2 separate regions of the Homo sapiens genome follow, and region 1 is linked to region 2. The links are contacts of gene promoters, found by promoter capture Hi-C in blood cells and fetal thymus (Javierre and others, 2016). All regions are on one chromosome and are shown on one strand. The core of a region is centred on a gene start or on the middle of the fragment in contact, and the rest is flanking DNA. Distances in the headings are between cores, read along the strand shown.

What was found. Contacts are between HindIII fragments. The CHiCAGO score rates a contact against its expected background, and 5 or more counts as called.
Region 1: a fragment that was not itself captured here is called in contact with the fragment with the promoter of FAM200B in region 2 in 2 of 17 cell types (fetal thymus and activated CD4 T cells); the score reaches 8.4 in fetal thymus.

The regions. Positions count from the first base shown.
Region 1 is chr4:17,811,244-17,818,031 of GRCh38, forward strand. It overlaps NCAPG (non-SMC condensin I complex subunit G), which reads left to right. Exons shown (of 21, transcript NM_022346.5): 2 at 978-1,181; 3 at 1,674-1,902; 4 at 3,610-3,755; 5 at 4,031-4,115; 6 at 6,018-6,210; 7 at 6,696-6,788. Among named protein-coding and RNA genes, the nearest start is that of NCAPG, 3.7 kb to the left of the region's middle. RefSeq lists an enhancer at 1-207. The HindIII fragment of the contact is 956 bases long and covers 773-1,728 here.
Region 2 is chr4:15,677,684-15,683,972 of GRCh38, forward strand. It overlaps FAM200B (family with sequence similarity 200 member B), which reads left to right and starts at 4,144. Exons shown (of 2, transcript NM_001145191.2): 1 at 4,144-4,218. It also overlaps a transcript of FBXL5 not described here. RefSeq lists enhancers at 3,644-3,943, 4,114-4,353, 4,364-4,413. The HindIII fragment of the contact is 4,207 bases long and covers 1,052-5,258 here.

The DNA of each region.
Region 1 (6,788 bases), core at 1-2,500, 2.1 Mb after region 2:
CAGGGGCCCTCCGTGGCCCTCGGGCTCGGCGCACCGTGACTCCAGCCTTGTTCACCTTCGCGACTCACTTCATAGGGATCTGAGGTTCGGAGAAGTCAGGGACTTACCCGAGGTCGCCTGGGCCCAGGCCAGAAAGCCTCCGAAGCCTGGGCGTCGTTCACACGGGCCCCGCCTTGGCTTTTCTGAGCCGACACCCCCAGCTTCTGGGCGGCGTGGACCGTTATTCCTTAGTCCGATCGTGAACGTGGAGAGAAACATTTACGACCACCGAGGCGATCAGACATCAAATATTGAACCGCAGAGTGGATCCTGAATGCGGGGGTTCAGTGGTCGTTGCCCCTGGGGTCATCGCTCCCCGCCGAACATCAAATGATTCTACCCTTGTCCTACGGTTACGTTGAATCCAATCACCAAATACCAAATTATTTTTAGGGCCTGGCCATTCTTATTTATGTACATACTATTTGTTTGTTTTGAGTGGAACCTTGAGAAGAATAGAACAATTAATTTGGGGAAGATGAATTATCTTGAGGTCCAAGAAAAATTGTGAGTAAACATCACAGGGCTTTGAGGATATGAGATAGGATGTGCAAGTTATCTCATAAAGAAACTGCTGGTGATAGGAAGGCCTGAATATGAGAAATATAAAAGCCAGTATTGATTTTGGGTTGTTGAAGAAGCGTATTTGTAACGTACTGGTACTAAAGGCTTATTGAGAATCAAAGATATTGAAAAAAATATATCAAAGGAATCTTTTCACTGTCAAAAGTCAAGCTTGTGTACTCCCATTATAGCCTGGAGAGAAATTCATGCAAATTGATTGCCCTTTGGCTGGTTTGGATAATTAAGAGTTTACTAAATAAATATTTTAATTTGTCTGCATTATTATGGCTAGTGCTTTCATCAGTCTTAGGGTGATGTTGGGAATAAAGGATTTTTATCGGTGCAGTTTATGAAGGGTTTCTTTTGTCTTTCAGATGGATGATAAGACAGTTTTTCATGAGGAGTTCATTCATTACCTTAAATATGTTATGGTGGTCTATAAACGTGAACCAGCTGTGGAGAGGGTAATAGAATTTGCAGCAAAGTTTGTTACCTCATTTCACCAATCAGATATGGAAGATGATGAGGAAGAGGAAGATGGTGGCCTTTTAAATTATTTGTTTACTTTTCTCTTAAAGGTACTATGAAAATGATAGCTTTGGGGAGGGATTTTAGAAAATTTTGCCACTTTAAAAGAGTCGTGGGAGTTTGTATGTTTTTGACAATGAAATATCTAGTGATTGAAAAAACCTGAATGAGTCTACCTTTCATAGGAAATATTAGAATTATCATTATGATTAAAAAGTGGACTTTAACTCCAGCATTAAATTTTTAATGACCTCTTTAAACCAGTTCTCCTTTGTTTATTTTAAATGAGTTCTGTATTTTAGAAGCCTCTACAAAGAGGACTATGTAACTTAGCAAAGACTTCTTTCAGACTGTTCATTTTGAGACTGTATAAAATATATATATTTGCTATACATATGGACCAAGGTAGCATTATAGGTTCTCTTCAGGAAATGAATTGTTGTTGTAACTTCTTGCATTCCGAATGTATAGAGTTCAGATAATATTGATTATTTGGGAGTGGTATGTGACTATGAATAAATTTTGATTTGTTTCTGTTTTAGTCTCATGAAGCAAACAGCAATGCAGTGAGATTTAGAGTGTGCCTGCTCATAAACAAGCTTTTGGGAAGTATGCCAGAAAATGCTCAGATTGATGATGATGTGTTTGATAAAATTAATAAAGCCATGCTTATTAGATTGAAAGATAAGATTCCAAATGTGAGAATACAGGCAGTTCTGGCGCTTTCACGACTTCAGGATCCCAAGGATGATGAATGCCCAGTGGTTAATGGTGTGTGTAGTTTCCTAAATCTTTTTTCAGATTTGTTGATTTTGTTAAATTCTCAGTATTTGAAATTTTTTATTATGGTCTATACATTTGAAGAGTATAGGTAATTAATATATGATTCCGATTAAACAAAAAAAACCTAAGTAGCAACCACCCAGCTTAAAAAAAAAAGTCAGTACTTGCATCCTATCCCAGTTGCATCCCTGTCCCTCAGAAGTAACTATTAAATCCTCAGTTTGGGGTTAATTAGTCTCTTGCTTAAATTAAAAAAAATTTTTTTGCATAAATCACATATGTCTATCTTAATGTTTTCCTGTCATTTTGTGTAAATCATGCTGTATGTATATATTTAGCAGCCAATTATATTTCTATATAATACCTGTTACTGTGTTTTGCCCATTTTTTCATTGGGTTTTTAATTTAAAATACTATTTTAAAAAATTCATTTGCATTCTTTATATATTTTGAAAAGAAATCCTTGGGTTATATGAATTGTAGATCTCTTCCTGTTTTAGGTGGCTCATTGGGGTATCATTGTTTCACTCCCTTTGGGGTATCTTTTTTTTGAACAGAAATTCTTATGTCAAAAATATAAATCTCTGCCATTATGATTCGTATTTTTTAATCTCTTTTTTAAGGAACTTTTTCTTACCTATGGGGTCATAAAGGTAGTTGTATTTCATTTTTCCATATATGCCTAGGTATGTTTTAGGCACTCTTCTGTCCTTTTTGTCCCTATTACCAGTTTTATAATCACTGGTATATTTATCACTATAGTAGTTGGTATTTTTTTTGGTGTTAAAAGATACCCATAATAATATTGTGTAAAACATAGGTATTTGATAGTCAACCTGTACTTAATAATTGAGGTAGGAAAGATGTGAGAAGTACAGATAAATATATTTAAATATAAGAAATGGGTTTGTTTCAATGAATAAAACCAAAAAATATTTCCTTTTAGGTCTCATTAAAAACCAAAATAATGGGCCCTTATAAAGCCATATCAGTTTAAAATAAACTGTCTGCTATAGTAAGCTTTCTCTTAAATATTGAGGAGTAGCACAGACATAATCTTAATGATGAATTTTCTGTGACTTTTAGGGCTATTTGTTTTCACTTTTGGCCTAAGAGCCAGTCCGTTGACTAATTCCCCCTTGTGTCTTTAGAAGGGAAGTTGGTGGCCTGCGCAGCAGTGACTCAGGCCTGTAATCTCAGCACTTTGGCTCCAACCTGGGCAACATAGTGAGACCTTGTCTCCAAAAAAAAGAAAAAGAAGGAAGTTGGTGGGAAAAAAACTTCAACTAAAATATGTGAGACTAAAAAAATGACATTACTTTCTATTACAGATGGGTTCTCACTCGGGCTGGATTGCAGAGGTGTGGCCTCAAACTCCTGGGCTTAAGTGATCCTTCCACCTCAGCCTCCTAAGTAACTGGAAGCGCCACTACCATGCCTAGCTAATTTTTTATTTTAAAATTATTTTGTAGAGACAGGGGTCTTTCTATATTGCTCAGGCTGGTCTTGAACTCTTGGCTTCAAGCTCTCCACCTACCTTGGCCTCCCAAAGTGCTGGTTATAGGCAGTAGCCATCATGCCCAGCCTATCTTTATCACATTAAAGGCATTTTAAAATATCAAAATGTGTGTTATTTTATGACTGTAGTTAAATAAATAATTTCATCAGTACTAAAATGTATTGCTTTATTTTTAGCATATGCTACTTTGATTGAAAATGATTCAAATCCAGAAGTTAGACGGGCAGTGTTATCATGTATTGCACCATCAGCAAAGACTTTGCCAAAAATTGTAGGGCGCACCAAGGATGTGAAAGAGGCTGTCAGAAAGCTGGCTTATCAGGTAAATAAGTTCAATGTCTTGTGTTGGCATATTCTTAAAGGACAAGGAGCCATTTTCTTAAAGTGCCTTTGAAAAATACTTGGCATGTAATAATTTCTTCAGTTGAGGTTTTATGGAGAACACAGGTAATTTAGGTAGAATCTTACTGTATTAAGTATGTTACCAGGTATTAATTTCTTTTGGAGATTCTGGGTAATTTTCTAAGATGGTGATATTCTTATGAAATCTATAAATTGTGTTGAGGTTAATGACCATCTTTATAAATTATTTTTAAGGTTTTAGCTGAAAAGGTTCATATGAGAGCTATGTCCATTGCTCAGAGAGTAATGCTCCTTCAACAAGGTCTTAATGACAGATCAGGTAAGATAAACAACTTTATATATACAAAACTTTAGTAGATTTTGAGGTCAGACTTAACAAGGTTTAAGAAACGAGTGTCAAATCAGGTCAAGTAAGCCTGCCAGTCCCATGAACCTGGTGAAATTTATCTTGATGTATTATATAGAAAACACAGGGCTAAAGATTTTGATATATATATATTTTTGAGACAGAGTCTCACTCTATCACCCAGACTGGAGTGCTGTGGTGCAATCTTGGCTCACTGCAACCTCTGCCTTCTAGTTTCAAGCGATTCTCCTGCCTCAGCCTCCTGAGCAGCTGGGATTACAGGTGAACATCACCATGTCTGGTTAATTTTTATATTTTTATAGAGACGGGGTTTCACCATGTTGGCCAGACTGGTCTCGAACTCCTGACCTCAAGTGATGCACCTACTTCAGCCTCCCAAAGTGTTGGGATTACAGGTGTGAGCCACCGCGTCTGGCCAAGATCTTGGTATTTTGAAGGAGCAGAGCTTATTTCTTTCACCCTTTCTGTATTTTACAGATGGAGAAACAATACTTAAGTCTGTAGAGCTAATTCATGTCAGAAGTAGGAAAAGATCTATTTGCCCTCTCTCTCTGACTTAAAAAAAAAATGCTGTTCCTTATGTGTATACTTTGGTATGAATGTGTTCTGTGTATCAGAAACAACAAATAGGAATGGTCAGACCAGTATAATTTTCTTATTTTTTTTTTTTTCTGTTAGAGTAGAGTTCCCCAACATTTTTGACACCAAGGATCGATTTCATGGAAGACAGTTTTTCCACAGAGGGCGGGCTGGATGGTTTCCAGATGAAACTGTTCCACCTCAGATCATCAGGCATTACTTAGATTCTCATAAGGAGCGTGCAACCTGGATACCTCATGTGCGCAGTTCACAATAGAGTTCCTGCGCCTGAGAGAATCTAATGCATCTGCTGATCTGACAGTAGGAAGAGCTCAGGTGGTAATGCTCGTTAGACCACGGCTTACCTCCTCCTGTGCGGCCCGGTTCCTAACAGGCCACAGACTGGTACTAGTCCGTGGCCCAGGGGTTGGGGAGCCTGAGAGAATCTGCTTATAGGAATGATATTTTTTGAAGTTTTTAACTCTCATGAGAAGGCCAAGATGGCTCTATTGCGCTGTAGTGAGAAAACCGACTTGCGTTTGAAAACATTGTCAGAGGACTAATTAGTAGGATGACCTTAAAAGCTAAGACTAAGGTTTGTTCAGTGACGTGTGCTTGTATAGTTCACTACTGCAAATAGCAATCGTGTAATAGATAAAATCAGATAACAAGTGAGATAATAGCTATTACATATTCTGGGCTAACACCTGAAGCCCATTGAACCCAGGGGAGAAGGAATGTAAAGATATTTTTGTAGGCTGTGGTATTTGGTGCTGAACCTTTTCCATTTTTATTTGTAAGTGACCATTACAGTGACTTTTGCAGTATCATGGTACTTCTTTTTTTTTACCTTTAATATGCTTAGTTGGCTGGGCGCTATGGCTCACACCTGTAATCTCAGCACTTTTGGAGGCCGAGGCAGGCGGATCACGAGGTCAAGAGATTGAGACCATCCTGGCCAACATGGTGAAACAAAAATTAGCTGGGCGTGGTGGCGCATGCCTGTAGTCCCAGCTACTCGGGAGGCTGAGGCAGGAGAATCGCTTGAATCTGGTAGGTGGAGGTTGCAGTGAACCAAGATCGTGCCACTGCACTCCAGCCTGGTGACAGAGCGAGACTCTGTCTCAAAAAATATATATATACATGCTTAGTTGTGCCTCTTAACCTCTACTATTTCTATTGTAAATACTGACTTTGTTAATTAAAACAGACAAAATACAAGAGATGGAAGCTAGAGGGAGCCTTTGTTCACCTATGTTTCAAATGACTCAATAGATGCTGTGAAACAAGCTATGCAGAAGCATCTTCTTCAAGGCTGGTTACGGTTCTCTGAAGGAAATATCTTAGAGTTGCTCCATCGGTTGGATGTAGAAAATTCTTCTGAAGTGGCAGTCTCTGTTCTCAATGCCTTGTTTTCAATAACTCCTCTCAGTGAACTGGTGGGACTCTGTAAAAACAATGATGGCAGGTACATAAAGGATTCATTCTTTGAAATGTAGTACTGATTAACTTGTGCAATTAATTTGTTTTTTTTCCTCCCCATAGCTTAAGATTATATTAATACCTTTAATCTTAACTCTCTTTTGTTTTCTTTTAGTCTGATGAATATCCTTTTATCCTTCCTTTTTCCCCTCCTGGTGTAAGAACTCATAACTTTATCATAGACTATCTACTTTAGCTATGCTTTTCCCCCCTTCAGTTTCTTACTTTGATTTTTGAATTAGCCTACCATGAGAAAATCCAGCAACATGCACCCCTAGTATATGTTTGCTTATTTGGTTCTTTTTTGTTCTAAGTTTCTTCATTCCTTTTTGTGTGGATACATTAATGACTCTAATTAAAAGGATAGTGTAGTGGTTTTAAAGCAAATCTTATTATTCTCATTTTTGTACTCTTCAATTCTTAATGATAAAAAGATCATGCTTTCTCTCACACTCTTTCTTTTAAATGAAGGAAATTGATTCCAGTGGAAACATTAACTCCTGAAATTGCTTTGTATTGGTGTGCCCTTTGTGAATATTTGAAATCAAAAGGAGATGAAGGTGA
Region 2 (6,289 bases), core at 2,894-5,393:
CCATACCTTCCCCTATGTGTCTCTTCCATTTGGCTGTTCCCAAGTTGTATCCTTTACACAAAAATTGTAGTAGTAAATATAGTGCTTTCCTAAGTTCTGTGAGTCATTCTAGCAAATTATCAAACTTGGGGAGTAGGTCATGGGAATGCCCAAATATGGAGTCAGCCTGGAAGAAGTCCAAGTAGGTTGGGAATACCTGAGACTTGTGGCTGGCATCTGAAATGGAGGCAGTCCTGTGGGACTGAGCGCTTAACCTGTGTGGCAACTGTGCTAACTTCAGGCAATTAGTAACGAAATTGAATTGCATTGTAGGACATTCAGCTGGTGTCAGGGAATTGCTATTGGAATGATGTATCATTAAATGGGCGGGTGGGTGTGTTTCATACATACTTTCTTTTCTCATAAATTATATATTTAATAGGAATAATTCAACTACTGTGAATTTAAAAATCAAACAAAAAACTATGAAGTTGCACATACTTTTAACTTATGGGACAAGTCATTATTCATAGGTGTTAAGTCTCAAAACAGGCAGGATTGCCTGGATTTTCTCATTTGCAATTTTATCTTTCAATCTAACAAGAATGGCTTCATTAATTTTTTACACAAAACATTATTAATCTAGGCATTTTCTGGCTTATTTCCCAATAACTTACTCAGAATTTGGCACATCAAAAACTTCATTGCTGTTTACCTCAGTATTGAAACAAAAACAAATGAAAACTTATTCCCAAGTGGCATTGTAACGACCACTTGATTTTCCCCAAGTGAAGGCTTTAATAACTCAAAGGGGTTACAATTCATGCAAACGAAGAAAAGCTACAATGCTACTTTCATGCATAGGTATACTAAATATACATTTACATAGTCTCAAAATAGTCCTTGTCTGAAATATTTGCTAAATAACAAGAATGCAACAACTTTTTGACCAAAATGATCTTCTGCATTCCTTCCTAGGTAGAGCATTAATTTAAGTATATTTACCTAAAATTGGTTTCTTATAATTTTAAATGTAAGCTATTATTACTTAACAAATCAGCTTTTAATTATAAGCTTATTATTTTAGCCTACAGAAAAATATTTATAAGGTCATTTTGTTTGAAATGTCACTGTCTTCATTTTTCTCATTATCTTCCTTCTGTTTGGTGAAATGATGTAATAAACTGCTGCAAATTCTGTTTCTCACTCTACTGTTGGTTCATATTTGCAGATCATCATAGCTTAATTGATATAATGAACAAATGCCTCTTAAAAAACTTTTACTGGTCAGCAGAAATAAAAAACAAACCCTTCACAAACTACATTGATAATAGTCTCTGTCCCTAGCACTATCATAATTCTCAAAAATCTCAACAATTTTTCACCAAACTAAAATCTCTATTTTTTTTTTTTTTTTTTTTGAGACGGAGTCTCACTCTCACCAGGCTGGAGTGCAGCGGCGTGATCTCGGCTCACTGCAACCTCCGCCTCCTGGGTTCAAGCGATTCTCCTGCCTCAGCCTCCTGAGTAGCTGGGATTATAGGCACGTGCCACCACACCCAGCTAATTTTTGTATTTTTAGTAGAGACAGGGTTTCACCATGTTGGTCAGGATCTCCTGATCTCATGATCCACCCGCTTCGGCCTCTCAAAGTGCTGGGATTACAGGTGTGAGCCACCATGTCGGGCTAAAATATCTACTCTTTAACAATTATTAATTATCCATCCAGTAGAAAAAACTGAGGAAAATAAACCTGAGTAATATTTACCCAAGTCTCTTGTTTTTGAATTGCTTCTGTCATGGAGCAAGGAAGCACAGATTTTGATCACAAGAGATTTTGATTTTTCTAAATATCCTTGAATCTATCTAGAGAAATATGCTAAAGGTACAGTTCAGGAACAAAAAAAAAAAAAAACAAAAAAACAAAAAACCAACACCCAATGGTCCCAATTCAATACTGCTTTTTAAAATTAAGCCTTCTTATCACACAACAAGTTATTTTTGTTATATGTTTTATCATTCTAACTCATATTCCCAAACTTTTCAGGATTTTACTTATCTATCAAAAAATCCCAATTATATTCCTGTTCTTTCCAATCCCCCTAAAAAAAAAAAAGCAGTATGTCTCATTCTCTTCTCTGCTGATAGGAGTGTAAAATGGATCACTCTATGAAGGGCAACTGTAAATATCTATCATATTTGCAAACACATTTCCTCTTGGATCCAGCAATTCTTTTCAGAATCTGACAGTTACCCCTGCAAATGTAGAAATGACATGTATTCACTGAAGAGTTGTTTCTAATATCTGAAGACTGGAAACAACGCCAAGTGTCCACCTACGCGTGATTTACTGTATAAACTGGAGTATATCTACAAAATGGAGTATGTGACAGGAAAAAATAAGTTTAATTGAATACTGATAAGGAGGAATATCCAGAATATACAGTAAAACAGGAAAAAAAAAAACATGAACAATGCAGAAAATATTGAAGGAGAGACCGAGTGAAATAAGACTGTATATTCTCATCTGCTTGTATCTCTGCATGAAGACCGGAAGGATAAACAAGAAACTAATTTAAAATGATTACCCGTGAAGACTATTAGGAATGGTACTGGATAGGGACTAGGGAGGAAGTGTTTCTTGCTGCATTTCTTTTCATGTAGTTTGAGCCATGTAAAAGAAATATTTGCTAATCAAAAAACAGCTTTAAAAATCCAGTGGGAGAGGCTGGGTGCAGTGGCTCACCCCTGTAATCCCAGCACTTTGGGAGGCCCAAGTGGGTGGATCACCTGAGGTCAGGAGTTCGAGACCAGCCTGGCCAAAATGGTGAAACCCCGTCTTTGTATTTTTGAAAAATACAAAAATTAGCCTGGCATGGTGGCGGTCGCCTGTAATCCCAGCTACTCGGGAGGTTGTGGCAGGGGAATCGCTTGAACCAGGAGGCTGAGGTTGCAGTGAGCCGAGGCTGCGCCACTGCACTCCAGCCTGGGCGAGAGAGTGAGACTCCGTCTCAAAAATTAAAAAAAAAAATCCAGTTGGAGAATCAAAAATTTTTAAAAATTTGACTGTGTAATCCTACAAGAAGTAAGTAGCTTGAGAAAGAGAAATGCTGATAAAGTCGCATTAAGTTTCAGAGTTGAAATTCAAGCTCCTGTATCTAACATGTTTCCCTGTTTAAGGTAGAATTTAAAAAAAAACTATATATGACATATATATGTCAACCCAAAAAAATAAAGCAGTATATATTATATATATAAGAATATATATATATTCTCCTTTATATGTTTTTTGTTTCACATATATATATAAATATATATCTCAACCACAAAAAAATTTGGTTTGTGACAAAGATGCACTTATTTGCACGAACCTATCTTGTTAATGATCAAGAAATCTGCTTTGTTACAATCATTAGAGGACAGAAATATACATACATATTTAAATCTATTTAATGAAATGCAGTTTTATGTTAAAAATCAATGATCTGCTAACCTAAAGAGTCGCACAGGAATACTATGATTATTAAACACAATGCGATTCTCTAAATAAGTAAACACGTGCAATGATATCAAAGTTCAAAATTCTCTAATTCTTCCACAAAGACTATGAAAATCACCTTGGAGTGTATGAACCAGCGTCCTGGCCCCGCCAGGTCGGGGCTGGGGCGGGCGCGGGCCGGGAGCGCTTACCCCGCGGCAGGAGCGATTCAGCGCCACTACCTGCTTCGCCTGGTTGTGGTGTGGCTGCTGCGCCAACCGAAAGGCCTCCTTAATCCGCAGCAGTCTCTTTTCGCTCCCATGGCTCTGGGACTCTGTCCGGACTAGCCCTGTCCGCGCTCGGCTACATCCGGCCCGCCCACCAGCTCAGAGGCAGAGTTCTCCGCGGTGTCTCCTAGGGTTTCTTGTCAGAGGGCCCCAGGCGCCTAGGGAGTCGTTACCGCCCTGGCATTCAAATAACTCCCGCGAGAGGCGGAAATCCCGCGAGACTGCCGACAGAGCGTAGGGAAGTGGAAAAGTGGAGCCTGCACCGCCCGCTCCCGGCACCCCCGGACACCGCCCCGGTCTCACGCATGCGCAGAGGGCCGATCCAGTTCTTTTCGGCTGGAATGGGGAATTTGTGAGGTAGGCCGGAAGTGGTGTTGCGGAGGGAAGTGTGGGGAGAGCAGAGGCGCAGCTCTGCTGGAGAGACCTGAGGCTTGCAGCGCTGGGCCCGGCCGGGTCGCTGCGGCTGGGCTGGAGGTGAGGCGAAAGAAGGGCATCCTCTGATGGGAGTGGACCGGAGTCCGCTAAAGCGAAGCATTCCAGGGTTCGTTGCGGGAAATACAGTCTGGTTTTGCCCCCCGTATGAATTGAGGGAAGGTGAGAGCAGAAGCAATCCGGGCCTGAAGGGCGATTATTCTAGGGTCGGCCGAGGGGTTCAGGCCAAAGTTCATTGAAATCCTAGCTGGGTCCCTGGAGGACGAGAAAACCGGTCAGGAGTCTCCTGGGAAGAGGGTCATGTTTTAATCTAGCTAAAGCTGGTACCTGGCAGTTTCCACTCTTAAGGCCTAGTGTACTAACTAATGTGTGCGCAATGTCAAAACAGGAAACAAAGGGAAATGCAAGAGGTGGAAGGTAATTTTAAGTTAGTGGCAGTATGACAGATTTCCAGTGCCTTCAGGAAGGTATCCAGCCTTAAAGATGCTTTTTTTAAATAGACGATTTTAGACAGAAAAAAGGTAGAAACAAAACTATAACACATGTGTACTCACCACTGAATTGGAGAAATAAATGATTATATAAGTGATTGAAGTCCTTTGTCAGCTCTACCCCGTCTCATTCTCTTTCCTTTTGCCTAAGGAAACCACTCTCCTAACCACCTTTATGCAATCTGTAATGTGTACATCTTTTTGCAGCTAGCTTGTTTTACATAATGTTTTTGAGATTTGTCAGTGTTGTGTAACTCCACCTTATTCATCTTAATAGCTGAACAGATATTCTGTTATTTTAATATGTCACTGTTCATTGTTTAGTATCTCCAGTGCCTGACATACTTTAGGCACTGTAGGTAGCTAAATGTTAGTTGAATGCATGGCTGCTGTAGCATTTGAACTAAGTAGAAAAGAATAAATAGGACTTCATGTGACCCAACAAGAGTATTCCAGGCAAAAGGAATACTAGCCAAAAGCAGAGACATGAAAGTGCATGAACTATTTCAAGAATTTCCATACTTTTAGTACTGAAATGTAGAATGTATGGAGATCATGTGATGAAGGAGAAACCTGGAAAGATGAGGCTTAAGCTTAAAGGATATTATCCTGAAGAGCTTACACAAGCTCGGCGCCATTAAATGCTTTTCCAGTTATGAGGAAGCTGATTAGAGCTGTATTTTCAGAAGATGATACAGCGCACTAGAGATATATCTTAGGATATAAAAGATTAGTGACGGGGAATTTTAGACTATCAAGCATTGTAACAATAACAATCATTGCATTAAGCAAGTAAGACAACCAGCCAGACTAAAAATCCAAAAACATTTTCCTAGTCCATCATATTATCACATTCCTTAACAATTATTAATATTTCATATTTTCTTCTGACAAACTTGCAACATTTTCTACTTCGGCCTCTTACTTAGATGATACCTCACATCCTATTGAGTTAAAAAAAAACTTCCCCATGCTTTCATCACCACATCTACCAGACCTGTTCCCTAATATACTGCCACTGCTGTTACTATAGATGAACTGTCTGATTTAGGAGGGAGAGTAAACCCTTTAAAAATATCTTTTTAATACAATAGTAACTGAACTAGTGTTACAAACTTTCAAGGGGGGATTGAAACGTGAATAGTAAGAATATGAAAGAATGGAATAGTTAAAAGACAATTGCTTCTAAGAGATAAATGATCCATATATAGTAATATAAAAATAAGATACTTTTTTAATGTATATTTCTTTTTTTCAGGTAGATTTAGGTTCTAAGCTTTAAAAGCTAAATCTAAATTTACATGTATGTTTTTATAGGATCATTGTTTCTACTATTTCTTAACATAAGCAGTTTATTATGAAGTAGAATCTTTAACAATCCTGTTTTAAATAATATGTTTTATTAGCCTTCGTCTTACATATTTCCCAGTTGTCCAAATATAGTTGGATAACTTATTTGTTACTGACTGTGATAAAAATAGAGTGTACATTGTACAGTTTACTACAGGTGTCATTAATTTTCTCATTCTCTCATATGCATTGAGTAACTACCATACAGCAAGCACTATTCTAGGAACAGGTAGATAAGATTTATTAGTGGAAAATCACTTACCTAAAACCAT